2 separate regions of the Homo sapiens genome follow, and region 2 is linked to region 1. Evidence: promoter capture Hi-C in human tissues and cell types (Jung and others, 2019). All regions are on one chromosome and are shown on one strand. Each heading gives the region's core, a stretch centred on a gene start or on the middle of the fragment in contact. The rest is flanking DNA. Distances are from core to core; before and after follow the strand shown. Region 1 holds the start of ITFG1 (integrin alpha FG-GAP repeat containing 1). Region 2 overlaps NETO2 (neuropilin and tolloid like 2).

The links. Contacts are between HindIII fragments. The study calls those that stand out against the background at their distance.
Region 2: a contact is called between a fragment that was not itself captured here and the fragment with the promoter of ITFG1 in region 1, in 1 of the 25 tissues and cell types used here (hippocampus).

What each region holds. Positions count from the first base shown.
Region 1 is chr16:47,459,224-47,463,785 of GRCh38, reverse strand. It overlaps ITFG1 (integrin alpha FG-GAP repeat containing 1), which reads left to right and starts at 2,723. Exons shown (of 18, transcript NM_030790.5): 1 at 2,723-2,948. The coding sequence starts at 2,741. It overlaps PHKB (phosphorylase kinase regulatory subunit beta), which reads right to left and starts at 2,455. Exons shown (of 31, transcript NM_000293.3): 1 at 2,360-2,455. The coding sequence starts at 2,435. RefSeq lists a silencer at 2,345-2,814. The HindIII fragment of the contact is 6,431 bases long and covers 1-4,562 here.
Region 2 is chr16:47,137,961-47,142,522 of GRCh38, reverse strand. The region is part of intron 1 of NETO2 (neuropilin and tolloid like 2); the gene reads left to right. Among named protein-coding and RNA genes, the nearest start is that of NETO2, 3.7 kb to the left of the region's middle. RefSeq lists silencers at 425-474, 485-574. The HindIII fragment of the contact is 7,905 bases long and covers 1-4,562 here.

The DNA.
Region 1 (4,562 bases), core at 1,474-3,973:
GAGGATCATTATAATTTTATTTTCTCTTTTATGACTTGAAAATGTGATTTTCTTTGCTTTGATAAATTACACTTGCTCATATGGATGAGATAGAAACTATATAATATCCACTTATTAGACATTACATAAAAGTAGTATCCTCTGTTGTGCAGTGAAGTAATTATGCTACTATGTAACAATGCTCAGAACTCTGTGGGGAGGACTCTATACTGGAGTCAGGTTAGTCAAGTGTTTAACAAAGCTCCATTTATATATTCTTCTAAAAGTAACAAACAGAATCAAGTTGATTGCTTTTAATGATACAGGAAGTTATTAACTCGAGTTATTAACTTTATCCTCTGTACTTCATATACTTACAAGAATCTGAAACCTCAAATTTAACTATTAATTTGGAGGAATAACTTCAAGTGGTATCTCTTTACTACTATGATGTAAACATACAGGAACATTCAACATTGATACTATGCACTTTGCACATAAAAGTGGATTTAAATAACTGCACTCAACAACAGTTAACACTAGAATTTTTTTTCTCAGCTAAGAAAAGAGAATTAAGGTTTTCAAAGCTTACTGTTATGACATGCATTTCAGAGGAAACAAAGACTGACGAAGAAAATCAACTCTATGAGCTTATGAAAGTTAAAGAGAAATGTTGCAAAAATATATGTTGGGGGCAGTACTCAGGTCCCTGTAAGAAAACTCCAGTTATTCTCTTTGTTCAGACATAACCAATCCAATAACACTTTTTATATCCAGATAGCCACATCGTTAGTAGCCAACTCAGTATTTCTATATCACACAAAAACAATTTAAGAAAAAGTGTGAAACAAATACATGTGACTATTCCAAGTCACTTTATTGATTCTTAGTAGTACTAAGGACTACTTTTTGAAAAAATTATCTCATACTTCATAGATGGTAATTTTACTATAACCCTAAGTATATAAAGCTGAACTTTTTGTAAGGTATAAAAAAACAGAGTGTTCGGTGTATGATTTCTGAAATTAGATTTTCAGAAATTAGATTTACTTTCTCCAAAAAAAAAAAAAAAAAAGTCAGTGTGCACAACAGACAACTAAGAACTTCATAAATAGGAAAAGCCCAAAACGTAAGGAGAACATATTAGGTGAGAAAATAATTTTTTTTTTTTTTGAGACGGAGTCTCACTCTGTCGCCCACGCTGGAGTGCAGTGGTGCGACCTCCACTCACTGCAGCCTCCGCCTCCCAGGTTCAAGCAATTCTTCTGCCTCAGACTCCCGAGTAGCTGGGGTTACAGGCGCCCGCCACCACGCCCAGGTAATTTTTGTATTTTTAGTAGAGATGGGGTTTTACCAGGTTGGCCAGGCTGGTCTCGAACTCCTGACCTCAGGTGATCCGCCCGCCTCGGCCTCCCAAAGTGCTGGGATTACAGGCGTGAGCCACCGCGCCCGTCCGAAAATAATTTCTTAATATCAATGCAAGTGCAAAGTTAATTTTCCTAGCTAACACCTTTCACACCCACCCCCAATAATGACACTTCATCAATTCTTTAAAAGGGAAGCTCCTTAGCTGAAAACCTGCATTCCGCCTTTCACCTTTCCTGTTTAAGTGCATGCCTTTTGTTCAAGATTATATCCAGCCAACCAGGAATACAGGAAGTTTTAATAACGCCACAAGTCATGACGTTGCAATTTGAACAAGTCAGTTCGGGACACTTGGAACTGTTAAAACTGCCTGCAAGGCACCTTCTGACCTCTATGCTTTCGGGTTTGGAAACCACACAACCTGGGGCCACTTAAGAAGCCCTTTTCTTTCTGGGCCCTAACTATACTCTTCAATATCTGAGGCCCAGTCTCCTTCAGTTTCTGCTAGATAGATGACAGGTCTACTGCTTAGAACCTGTGGGGAATGTAAAAGGGATATAAGACATAAAGCAAGGAGCCCAGACGCCGGCTTTCTGCAGCCAGATCGTAGTTACATCTGACTTGGTCTGATTAAGCTATCTGACTTTTGCAGAGAACATTCACAGGAAAGACACATTCACAGGGAAGACACATTCCCTTTCCCAGGAATGTGCCGCCGCCCGATTTTTAAGTTAGAAGACTCTAAGGGAAGTCCGGACCGCTGCCTACTTTCCGAGTGGGGCTCACAAGCGGAATAGAGTCGGGGGCACACGCAGAGTGGAGCTGGCTCTGCCACCTAATTTTTAGAGGTGGAGGAAGATATTAGAAACAAGGCCAGGGCCGCCACCTGCTTTCTAAGGAGGAACTCGGGGCACAGGTTCATTCCCAGGGCCCCCACCTGCCTCCCGCCAAGGCGCTTGAGGCGAAGCACCACCCAAGGTACTCGGGTGGGGGGCGGCGCCCCAGCCAGCCAAACCTGAGCGCTTGGTCCGAGCTCTTCGCTCCAAGACCTTCCAGCTCACTTCTGCCGTGAGTCCCGCCGCCCCCGCCATCGCGCTCCGGTCGCCGCCTTGGCCACCGCCCCCGGGGCCGCCTGTCAGCAATGCCGGGCCACGCCCCCCGCACGACACTGTCGGGAGGCGCGCCTGCCGGAAGTGAGCGTGAGGGCGGCTTTCACCCTAGCTCCACTGCTTTTTTAGCGTCGGAAGGGCAGCCCTAGTGGGAGAGAGAAAAAGGAGCCGGCAGCGGCTCTTACGCGTCCCGGGGCTGCGCGCCACTCTCTCGGCCGGTAACGCGGTGCTTTGCGGCTGTCGTCAAGCGCGGCGTTGGGCCGGCGGGCGGGGGCTGAGGGGCTGCCATGGCGGCGGCGGGCCGGCTCCCGAGCTCCTGGGCCCTCTTCTCGCCGCTCCTCGCAGGGCTTGCACTACTGGGAGTCGGGCCGGTCCCAGCGCGGGCGCTGCACAACGTCACGGCCGAGCTCTTTGGGGCCGAGGCCTGGGGCACCCTTGCGGCTTTCGGGGACCTCAACTCCGACAAGCAGACGGATCTCTTCGTGCTGCGGGAAAGTCAGTGCTTGCCGGGCCCTCCCTCTGTTCGCTGTCCGTGTGCCTCTCCCGGTGTTCCCCAAACCCATTGCCCAATGGCCGGTCCTTCTGCATTTCCTGGTCCTTCTCTCCCAGCCCTGTGGCCTTCCCTTTAGCATTCTTAACAGCTTGTCCTTTTGCACCACCCTTTCCAACCCCAGGTTCTGACCCAGCTACCCTACAGTTTGACCTACCCTCAAAAGCCCTGACAGCACCTCAGTTTTGTTCCTAAGAAGTCTGCGGCCCTCACCCAGTCACCTTACCCCCTCCTCCCCATGGAATCACCTGTTTTCCAAAGTGCTTCCTGATTCCTAGGAATCTTTGTAGCTTGCCTCAACGTTCGCTCCCAAGGCCCACTCATTCCTTTCTATTTTGCTTCAGTCTTCCTTCCCCGTTGATGAACATGAAAAGGTGCAACCTGACAATCTCTTCTCATAGGGGGCTTCTTCTTGCCTCCCCACCTACCTAATTCGCCCACCCCTTTCTTTGTCAAGGCCACAACTTTCTATGAAGCGAATGTACCCTTCCAAGGGCCTAAACACTAAACAGCTCACACAAGCATTTTGCAGGGACCACTGATAAACCCAATGCCTCCTTGGGAAAGCAGTCTCAAACTACAGAAATTTCTCTCTTGAGCTGCCTGTTCTTTCGTGTACTCCTTCCTCATCTTGGTCATCACCTTAGTGTTCCAAATGTCTACTTTCTTTGCTAACTTGTTCTTGGAAATTCTTTGCTTTGACAATCGTTAAACTAACTTTTTTGTAAATCTTGATGCTGACAGTGGGCATTAGGGGGTCTTAGGGTTCTTGAGTACCTACAGAAGCAGGTGCTGCTTAAAGATCAATGCTGTGAAGGAAGGAAGGAAGAGCTACTCAGAGCTTGCCTGACAGGATCCTGAACCAGACTTCTTGGAGCCCTTGCGGGGATGCAGGAACCTCTTACAAACCCTGAATATTTTCCCAATCTTTTTGACTCCTCATTTTGCAGTGTACTGCCAAACCTGTTGCTGCTGTGTCCAAACTGGATACAGAGAGTAGCCTTGACTTTAAAGATGGCCTGTGTTTGATTAAACAATTCCAAAAGTCTGTCTCAATGAGTGCTAATTGAGCTCCAAGAATGTGTCACCCTCTGGAGGATGGCCCCATAGGAGGAGGGTCTTGGAGGATTCAGCATTTTGTGCTCACATGCTTAATTATGTCTTTGTCAGATATCTACAATGGGAGTCCCTGCATCCTTGGTGTGATGCATCTGTGTAATGAACCAAACAGCCTTACAAGGGACAGCATTGCTAGATTCGGGGAAGACAAGTCTTGACATGTAGTATAGTTATAAGGCATCTTTATATGGTTCTTTTAAGTCAACCAATCTGACTCCTCGCAGAATCCACTGGCTTCAGTTTCTCTTGATCAGCTGCTTTTTCCCATGTTCATCCTTTCTATTTCTCTGCTACTTTGAACATTGAACTTGTGATATAATGTTAGGCATCTCCATTGGACTAGTGGGACTATGCTTGAGAGGGCAGATGAACTGGAGTAGAATAAAAGTTTTCTTGTTGAGAACAGTGCCCAGAAACCTTCTTGTAACCACTGATTAGAT
Region 2 (4,562 bases), core at 1,285-3,784, 320 kb after region 1:
GCACTGTATCTTAATATTTGTAGAGTGACTTTTTTCCTGCTCCCTAACAGCACTTTTTTCAAATTTGTTTTATTAGAAAGTTCAGTGTAATTTTGCTTTTGATTTTAATTGGACACATTGTCTACTCTCCACATATTCCTAAATTCGTAATTGAGATTTCAGTAATTCGAAACGTTTAACTACCCCACTGTAAACGTATCTACAGCTTGTACTAAGGTAACCTAGGACTTTCTAGCTGATGAATATTTCACAAACCGTAAATCCGTAGTGATTTCTTTATTACAATTGAAAACAACTCTGAAATTCATCCTGTGGCTTTCATATCTCTAACTCCTAATTTTTACAGTCATTCCTGGGAAAGGAATGTTTTTACTCTTTCGTGATAAACCGTATGCACACTAGGATTTCTGATCGTGTTGCTTATCTGAATTTTCTGCCGTTGTCGGATTGCGCCCTCACTACGGTAAGGTTGTCAGCATGCTACTGACCGTGCATCCGAGAGCACCCCCGGATGAAATCGCGTAGATCTGTCACACCGCTTTACCTGCAGAACTTGATAAAATCGAGCTGGATAGGGTAGGGGCTGGTAGCGCCTCCTCCAATGGTGAAGGGATTTGCAGCGTTTCTGCCTTTGCCTTTCCCGTGGGTGCACACTGCCCTCTCTGGCCATCGTGGTGAAGCGTTGAGTGTTGTACCTTTCAGGAAAGGATTCTGGTGATGGCAGAGCTACGGTGAAAACAATATAGTGTCTGGCTTTTCTTTTTTCAGTGTTAGCCTACACTATTTTTACATGCTGGAGTATTTTTAAAGCTCAAGCTGAATTATTATTGTTGTTGCTGCTATTGGTGGCGGCTTCCTAGAGAGAAAGCAAGTTATTTTTAAAGTCGTCTGTGGTATCAACTTGTAAATGCCAATAACTGGTCTGGAAAGATTCAATAAATTGTTAACAGTAGTTGATTCTAATACGGAAATCTAGGGGATTAAAAGACAGGAATGAAGGGAAGACTGGTTTCACTGCACACCCATTTGTATCACTTGATTTTGTTTTTGTTTTTTTTTTTTACCAAACGCATGTATAATTTATTTAAAAATCAATATTTTAATTTTAAAAAGTTGCCTTTAAAAAGATACTGGCCTTTCCCATTACAAACTACTCATTGTGTGCCCCAAGGCATGAAGAAGTTTTCCTTTTATCCTATAAAGTGAATTGCTTTAACATCAAAGAGGTTCTTATCTGAAGCAGCTATTTAACATTTACATAATTGTGGATATTACCCACAGAAGCCTTGTTTGAAATATTATGGTCAGTTTCTACTAAAATAAATCAGCCATAATGAGTGTGTGAGATTTTAAGTAGAAAGTAATTTTAGTTCTTTAAGATGCCACTGATTATTCTTGTTTTACTTTCAGCCATTAAGACAAAAGAATAACCTTACTAGGCTTTTAAACCTTTCCTATGTTGTTGAAACTAAAAAATTCACTTTTAGCTGTGATCACTCTAGGCCTCACAGAATTCGAGTTAATCTTCTGTCAAGGTTAACTAAGCATTATAGTCTCATGAAAATATTACATGAGGATTATAAATCCATTTTTTGTTCTTATTCTGCACACTTGCTTCAGGAGAATCTGTTCGACTCAGCAATATTTCAAGCTGTAGAAACTGGTTAAATTTGTAATGTAACAGCAAAAATATTCCTTGGCACTGTATTTAAAAATCTTGTCTGAGACGGTGCAAGTATTAACTCGTTTTTCATTCTTACATTTCACCCAGGACTATAAACTAGTTATACAGAAATAAGTGTGGTACTGAAAAACTTGTCCTTTAATACTAAAGCCTTATTAAAAATCAACTTTTTGGCTTTTCCTTCCAGGGGTTGGGAAAAACTGTTTTAACACTGTCAATTGAAAAGTCTTATTAAATAATGGTTTTTTTGTAGTAAATCCTCAACTGCAATCTGGTTTATCTTTCATTTTGAAATTAAAATCACTATTTAGGAAAAACCCTGCATGACAAAACAAGTTGAAATCAAAGCCATTTTCAGTCCTTTTTAGAAAAGATAGAAAAATGATAGACTAGAAATAAAGTTCATATCTGAAATTTTAAAACAATAGACTACCTCCTTCTCTTGGGGTACCACCCATCCAGCACAATCTCCTATCATTTTTCAACTTACGCTCCTGTAGAATAATTATTTATACTTAGAAATACGTCTCCCTGAGGCACTGGAGATTGAAATTATTATGATCTTTGAGTTGGAAAGGAGCATCTTAAGAGGTGGTCTAATCCAATGGTTTCCAAACTTCAGAGGAACTTTTGTGAGGAAGCACTTGAAAAAAAAAGGAAAAAGGACAACAGAACAGAGTTGCTGTGATTGGTGGGAGGCCTTGCCCTCTCAGTCACCTCAAACACCAGGGTGGCTCCAAGAACTGACACTTCAACGGGTTTGTTATATTGCTTCCAAAATTACAGGGTATACTAATCTGAAAGTTCAGTCCTTTCTAATCAAAATGACATTAAGACATGTTGGTTTAAATATGCCTGGAGTAACATTGGAAATTACAGCACTAGAAGATACCAAGTAGTCTTTCAAATATGACCTGATCATGTTAGAAGGTGATGGTAGTCACTGTACAGTCAGGAGGACTGATGTGTAATTAAAATACAGCTTACAAAAGCGCCATCTCAGATCAGCTCGACTAAGGAGGAGTTTGTCACATTCTGCAGGAAAGAGAAAGCACTTCTGCTATAGAGTTACTCTTTCTTACTAAAGTGATTGGCATGTCATTAGCATATGTAGGCTGGAGTGATCCCAAAGTTCACCATCCATCTTTGTTCTTAACTAGTAAAGTATGATTGAGTTTGATTAAATTTGGGTACTTTTTTTGTTCTTTGGAACATAGTTTATCAAAAACAAGTGACTGCCATGTCAAATAGTATGTGGACTCTAATTGAACTCTGTTCTGCTGTCATTATAGGAAATGGTAATGAGCAGAGAGACCAGGTAGGTGGTTCTCTGTGTTGGATTTTAAAAGCTTTATGTTTACCACTGAGTTGCTTAACACAGGAAGATGTAGAAAGAGACACACTTAATTACTAACAAAGGTAAATTGAGCCAGCTTGAGGAAAATAACAGTGGTGGCAGGGTATCTCAGGAGGGTGGGGGGGAATCTCAGTTCTTTTCCCATCCCCTGATTTGTGCTCGCATTTAAAAAAGCAAGGTCACATGTGTGGCTACTGTTTGTTCATCCAAGATGTGTGCCTGTCAGTTACTGTGCTATGTGTTTGCGGTTACAAAGAAGATGCACTGGAGTCGCGCTCAGTCACCCCCATGTGTTCATCGTGTCTGTATTGAATACTGTTGAGGCCAGACAGTCTTTTAGGCTGTGGAGATGCATCAGTGAATCAGACAGACAAGGCCCTTCTTTCTAGTGAGAAGAGACAGACAACCAACAAGACTCAAAATACCAGGTAATATAATAATGAAGTAAAGCAAAATGAAGGAGAAAATGTAGCGCTTATTTAGAAATTGGGAAAGCCTCACAAGACCTGAACAACAGGAAGGAATCAGCCAAAGAGATTCTAGGCCGAAGGCACAGCTGGTTCCTGAGGCAAGAATTAGCTTGATGTGTTTTGAGTGATGGGAAGGCGGCCTGTGTTCTAGTAGAGAGCGCTCGGAAGGCCAGAGAGACACGCAGGCTCCAGGTCACATAGTACCTCCGAAGTCAGAGTAAGGGGCACAGAGTTGTTCTAACTATAATGGGACTCTACTGGAAGATTTTAAGCAAGGCTGTGATGTGATCTGATTTGTATTTTGAAAAGGTCACTGGCTGCTGTGTACATAATACACTATAGGGACTGTGGCAGAAACTTCCAGTTGTCTAGAAATGTCCATTTAACTATTTGTCAGTAATTCTCTGAATTTAACTGAGCGCACAGTTCCCCAAAATGAAGACTATTTACCAGTTTCCTGTTGGTTTAGGTGACCATGTGACTAAGTCTAGCCAGTTAGATATAAGTAGAAAATGATGTGTGCAACTTAGGGGAATTGTTGTTTTTGTTGTTTAAACTTTTATTTTGAAATCATTGTAGATTATGGGCAAGTGTTTTTGTTTTGTTTTGTTTGAGATGGAGTCTTGCTCTGTCACCCAGGCTGGAGTGCAGTGGCACGATCTTGGCGCACCACAACCTCTGCCTCCCAGGTTCAAGCGATTCTCCTGCCTCAGCCTCCCCAGTAGCTGGGACTACAGGCGTGTGCCACCATGCCCGGCTAATTTTTGTATTTTTATTAGAGACGGGGTTTCACCATATTGTTCAGGCTGGTCTTGAACTTCTGACCTCATGACCCGCCCACCTCAGCCTCGCAAAGTGCTGGGATTACAGGCGTGAGTCACCGCGCCTGGCCCTGGGCAAGTGTTTTTAAAGAAAGAGAGAATGCCCTTTATCAAGTCATCATTCTTGATAACTAGAATGCAGACATGGGAGCTATAATGAAGATAGAATAGCTGGCACTCCAGCCTCATACTGGACCATAGGGTGACCTTGGAAATGAGCCTCTCACAGC